Linked DNA regions of Homo sapiens: region 2 is linked to region 1. Evidence: promoter capture Hi-C in 16 types of primary human blood cells and fetal thymus (Javierre and others, 2016). All regions are on one chromosome and are shown on one strand. The core of a region is centred on a gene start or on the middle of the fragment in contact, and the rest is flanking DNA. Distances in the headings are between cores, read along the strand shown. Region 1 holds the start of UBA2 (ubiquitin like modifier activating enzyme 2). Region 2 has its middle 46 kb from the start of LSM14A.

What was found. The method cuts DNA at HindIII sites, captures the fragments that hold promoters and counts their contacts. A CHiCAGO score of 5 or more calls a contact.
Region 2: a fragment that was not itself captured here is called in contact with the fragment with the promoter of UBA2 in region 1 in 1 of 17 cell types (fetal thymus); the score reaches 5.3 in fetal thymus.

Annotation. Positions count from the first base shown.
Region 1 is chr19:34,427,040-34,429,739 of GRCh38, reverse strand. It overlaps UBA2 (ubiquitin like modifier activating enzyme 2), which reads right to left and starts at 1,359. Exons shown (of 17, transcript NM_005499.3): 1 at 1,170-1,359. The coding sequence starts at 1,307. It overlaps LOC124904695 (a long non-coding RNA gene), which reads left to right and starts at 1,376. Exons shown (of 2, transcript XR_007067232.1): 1 at 1,376-1,618. RefSeq lists silencers at 862-1,021, 1,092-1,201, 1,232-1,471. The HindIII fragment of the contact is 4,339 bases long and covers 1-2,473 here.
Region 2 is chr19:34,125,072-34,127,771 of GRCh38, reverse strand. It overlaps the pseudogene CHCHD2P3. Among named protein-coding and RNA genes, the nearest start is that of LSM14A, 46 kb to the left of the region's middle. RefSeq lists an enhancer at 617-1,126. The HindIII fragment of the contact is 8,804 bases long and covers 1-2,700 here.

The DNA.
Region 1 (2,700 bases), core at 110-2,609:
CACAGCCTCCCGGGTAGCTGGGACCACAGGCGCACACCACCACGCCCCGCTAATTTTCTTTTTTTGTAGAGACGGGGTTTCTCTATGTTGCCCAGGTTCTGTTCTTTTTCTTAAATGATACATGGCAAACGTTTATTGAATTTTTGCTGCCTCCCTTAATTCAAGCCTTCATCCATACACAATTTCATTTACTATTAACCTGAGAACTGTGAAAGGAAACTTTTACACATGGTTAAAAAAGTATCATGTTTTAAGTTTTATCTAATTTTTGCTTAAATATATAATACATAAAGGAAAGAAACAATGACTCAGTCGGCCACCCGTACTTTTTTGTTCATTCCATGTTTCCACTAGCCCTTAAGACACTTTAAACTCACACCGAAGGGCCAGTAACATCTCCAATCTCTAAAAAGTTTGCATTAGTAGAAATAACGATTCAAAATAGCACTGGCTTGTCAACGTACACCAATGCAAAAGGCACAGTCCTAACGTCTTTAATGAAACAAGCGAGTGTACCGTCTACTGTGAGAGCAATGACAGTCACGCAGCCTGCGGGAGCCCTGCCACTCGCTCCGTGACCCAGGGTAAGTTACTCAACCCCATTGCGTCTCCCTTTCCTCATCTGTTAAAAATAAAGCAGGGTGGAAATAGCGTTTGCACTCCTCGGGTGGTATGAAGATGGTGCGCGTTCCGTGTGTAAACCCGCTCGTGACCAGCGCTCGGGACGCGTTGGTCGCTATCATTGCCATCCTCCGCCCCGCGTCGTTACTTCGGAGTTACGACAGGGACCTCAAAATTAAAGTCACAACATCCGCGAGGGACTCAATCCTCTCCCGCATCTCCTAACAGCCGGGAATTTGTTTTGAAGGGAGGATAAGAGGCGGCTTCACGCCCACGAAGCGCCACACATTGGCGCTGCCGGGGAGGCGGGGGCCCGCGGCCTCCTCGGCGTCCGGAGCCGGCCCAGCGAGCGGAGGCCCGCCCCGTGCCCAAAGAACAGTCTCCTCCCGCGGGGGGGGCACAACCCGAGCCTCTCAGCCTGCCCCCGCTCCGCAACTCCGGTCCCGGGCTCCGGGCCCTGAGCCTCAGAGCCCCTGGAGCCCCGGAACCCCCGAATCCCAGCCCCCGCACCACAGCCCGCCATTCACGCGCGCGCGCCCGGCCCTCACCAGGTCGATGTGGGAGAAACCGGTGAGCACGAGATTCTTGAGGAGCTCGCAGCCGATGCCGCCCGCCCCCACCACCAGCACCCGGCCCCCGGCCACCGCCTCAGCCAGCTCCCGGGGCAGCCCCCGCGACAGTGCCATGGCGGGACAACCACGAGCCGCGGCGGAGGCGGAGGCGGGAGAACCGAGCCGCGGCCGGAAGCGGGTGGGGGAAGGGCGGCCTGGTTTCCGCTCCTGCGCACTACAGCCTCCGGCAGACACAGGCAGGGCACATCGCGCCGGGGTGTGCTGCAGCCCGCGGGGACCGGCAGGCTCTTGCAAAGGGCTGGCGACCTCCAGCTGAGACCGGCGGTGTTATTCCCACACCAGCATAGGCCCGCCATCAGACCTAAAAAGTCTAAGGGTCGCCTTCTAGCCTGGGGTTTCAACTCCCAGCCAAGACTTCCTTACAGGTTAGAAAACTGATGTCCCTATACGTAAAGAGCTCTTACAAATTAACAAGTGTCACCCCCAAAAAAATATAGGCAAAGGATGTGAACAGGAAACTCACAAAAAATTGGACAATATGATCAATAAGCGTATTAAAATGTAAACCATAAAAGAATCGCTTGAACCCTGGAGGTGGAGGTTGCAGTGAACCAAGATCGCACCACTTCACTCCAGGCTGGGTAACAGAGCAAGACTCCGTCTCAAAAAAGAAAAAAATGTAAACCATGCAAAATGGTAAGATTTTCACCTGCCGGGCGCGGTGGCTTACGCCTGTAATCCCAGCACTTTGGGAGGCCGAGGCGGGTGGATCACGAGGTCAGGAGTTCTGAAACCAGCCTGACTAACATGGTGAAACCCCCATCTCTACTAAAAATACAAAAATTAGCCGGGCGTGGTGGCGTGCGCCTGTAATCCCAGCTACTCGGGAGGCTGAGGCAGGAGAATCGTTTGAACCCAGGAGGCAGAGGTTGCAGTGAGCCGAGATCGCGCCACTGCACTCCAGCCTGGGCAACAGACTCCGTCTCAAAAAAACAAACAAACAAACAAACAAAAAAAAACACCGAAACAGCTGGGGGTGGTGGCACAAGCCTGTAGCCCCAGCTACTCAGGAGGCTGAGGCAGGAGAATTGCTTGAACCCAGGAGGCGGAGGTTGCACCACTGCACTCCAGCCTGAGCAATACAGCGAGACTCTGTCTCAAAAAAAAAAAAAAGTTTTTCACCTACTAAACTGGTAGAAAGAAAAAATAAGTAACACTTATCAAGGGATTGGGAAACAAGCACTCCAACACACTCCAGGTAAAGATTCCAAAGCAAAGCTTCTCTAGAGGGCGTGGTGGCTTGCACCTGTAGTCCCAGCTACTCAGGAGGCTGAGGCAGGAGGATCACTTAAGCCTGAGAGGTCGAGGCTGCAGTGAGCTATGCCCTTACCACTGCACTCCAGCCTGAGAGACAGAGCAAGACCCTGTCTCGAAAAAAAAGAAAAAAAAACCCTAAAATTGTGCACAACTTTTGACTCATTCATTCCAATTCTAGGAAACTGTCCTG
Region 2 (2,700 bases), core at 18-2,517, 300 kb after region 1:
GTTTGATGACAATGATATTACATTTTTCATTTCATTCATTTCATTTTCATTTTTATTTTTGGAAGAAAATCACTTTATTTTAATTAACTCACAGAGAATAAAATCACAGCTAGTTTAAGGAGGCTACACAAACATTTGCCCAGCCCCAAATTCTACACGACCTTAATGAAATTCTGCACAGTAAGAGCACCTTCTTTCATTTCAATTCTGAAGCAAGGAAGCTATGAATGACAAGGAGAGGTTTAACTGATGGTTACACTTTATACCTTCACTATCAATTATATTTTTATACTAAATTAACTTGGTTATGAGAGCTGATTTTTCATTACTCCAATTTGACCTTCTTGATTAGGCCAATCTGTTTGAAGGTCTGCACTGTTTCAGCACCTCACTGAAACCCTCACAGAGCTTTCTGTCACCCTGGTTCTGTGCATCCTCCAAAAACTGGTCTCATAGAAGCAAGGCCGCTGCTGCTGTGCCGACTGGATTCCCTGAGGCTACTGGTAAGTGATGTCAGGCCTTACAGGCTCAGCATTACTTCCTCCACTGAAGCCCCCGGTGACGGCGTGGCCCAGTGTGTGCCCCACAGCAGAGCCCACAGCCACGTCAGCTGCAGTGGTTGCCATCTGGGCCCTCAGACCTGGCTGCTGGGGAGCAGCAGCAGGAGAGCCAACTGCAGAGGTGGATGCCACTGTTGGCGGCTGAGCTGCAGGTGCTGGCCTGTATGCAGCTGTCATCTGAGATGCCCGGCTGGCCAGAGGGGCCATGTGGGAAGTGTGGCTTCAGCTTCCATGGGGCATCCTAGGTGTGTTGGCGGCTCGGCATTTGGATGTGTGAAAACAAGCCGTTTTGTTCATTTTAAAGAGCTCAAACAATGCAGAAAACTGCAGTGATAAAATTTAGAAAATATATAATCCTCCCTGAATTCCGCCACCGAGAAAGAAACACCATTAGCTGTATTTTTATTTTTATTGCCCAGGCTGGAGTGCAATGGCTCGATCTCAGCTCACTGCAACCTCTGCCTCCCGGATTCAAGTGATTATTCTGTCTCAGCCTCCCAAGTAGCTGGGATTACAGGTGTGCACCACCATGCCCAGATAATTTTTTTGTGTTTTTAGTAGAGATGAGTTTCACCATGTTGGTCAGGCTGGTCTCAAACTCCTGACCTCAGGTGATCTGCCCGCCTCGGCCTCCCAAAGTGCTGGGATTACAGGCATGAGCCACCACACCTGGCCTATCAATATTTGTTGAATGAATATCTTGTAGAATTTTTTAAGGCTTTGAAATTGCTTTGTATTTGGCAAATACTTTAAATCTAATGCCTCTCCCACTTGCTTTTTTGAAAAAATGAGTTATCCTTATCCTTATCCTTTTCCCAGGATAGCCCTCAGACTTTCCTGGGTGGGCCCTACATCTCAGCAGCCTCCCTGGAAAACATCCTCTGCTTCTCTGGACTCTCCAAGTGGGATAGATGCAGAGAATATCTGCCCTCTTGGCCCCCACAGGCTGAGCATACCCAGTAATTGGTCTTATTATTCTGTGTTGGAATTTTAGAAAGATAGTGTGATGTGGTTATTATTCTATGAATATCAACTTCTAAATTGATCCAATGCTCAATGAAAATGACATTTCTTTTTCTTTTTCTTTTCTTGAGATGGAGTTTCGCTTTTGTTGCTTAGGCTGGAGTGCACTGGTGCAACCTTGGCTCACCGCAACCTCTGCTTCCTGGGTTCAAGTGATTTTCGTGCCTCAGCCTCCTGAGTAGCTGGGATTACAGGAGCACACCACCACACCTGGCTAATTTTTGTATTTTTAGTAGAGACAGCATTTCGCCATATTGGCCAGGCTGGTCTTGAACTCTGACCTCAGGTGATCCACCAGCCTTAGCCTCCCAAAGTGCTGGGATTACAGGTGTGAGCCACTGTGCCTGGCCATTTTTCTTTCTTTCCTTTTTCTTTTTTTTTTTTTTTTTGAGACAGGGTTTTGCTCTGCTGCCCAGGTTGGAGAAAACCCACTGAGAAACATCATATATATGGAAGCTGTTCATACATAGTATATGAGTGGGCTGTAGAGACAGGGGTGCTGTGGAGGAAATGAACTTTGATTTTGTTGCTGAAAACTGCATTATTAGCTCCTGAATTTCCAGTCTGTTATATAATTGTTTATGTGAACATGATGCATTTTAAGGTGTAATATTTAAAATTTACTTGGCATTAAATCATAGTTCTGCTCTTAATATACTTTATAGAGAATTTGGGACATGGTTTTATTCATACAGATTATTAGGTTCATTTCTTTAAAAGAGACTAGCTCCTTTAGTGGATTTGATGTGTAGAAGGATAATTTTAGCGCAAATAACTGCTAAACTGTGCATTCGAGAGCAGAGGTAGTGGGGAATATGGTGTAATTACTTGAGATAAGGTATGTTTATCATTTGTGTTTTCTCATGGTGAAGATTAAATATATAGCTTAAATATAATACATATGCTCATAAGAACCCTTTTCATTAGATGTATATGTACTGAGTAGCAGGTTCTTAAAATGGCTGTTTCCCTGGATTGATTGTTGAGGGAAGAAAGTGTAATTGCACCAGATCAATCTGGCTCAACTTTTATGTAACAAAGTTGTGAGTTGTTTTTCAGTTGCCATGGACCCCCAGGTCAAAGGTCATGTAACTTGAGCATGCCCAGATGAACAGTC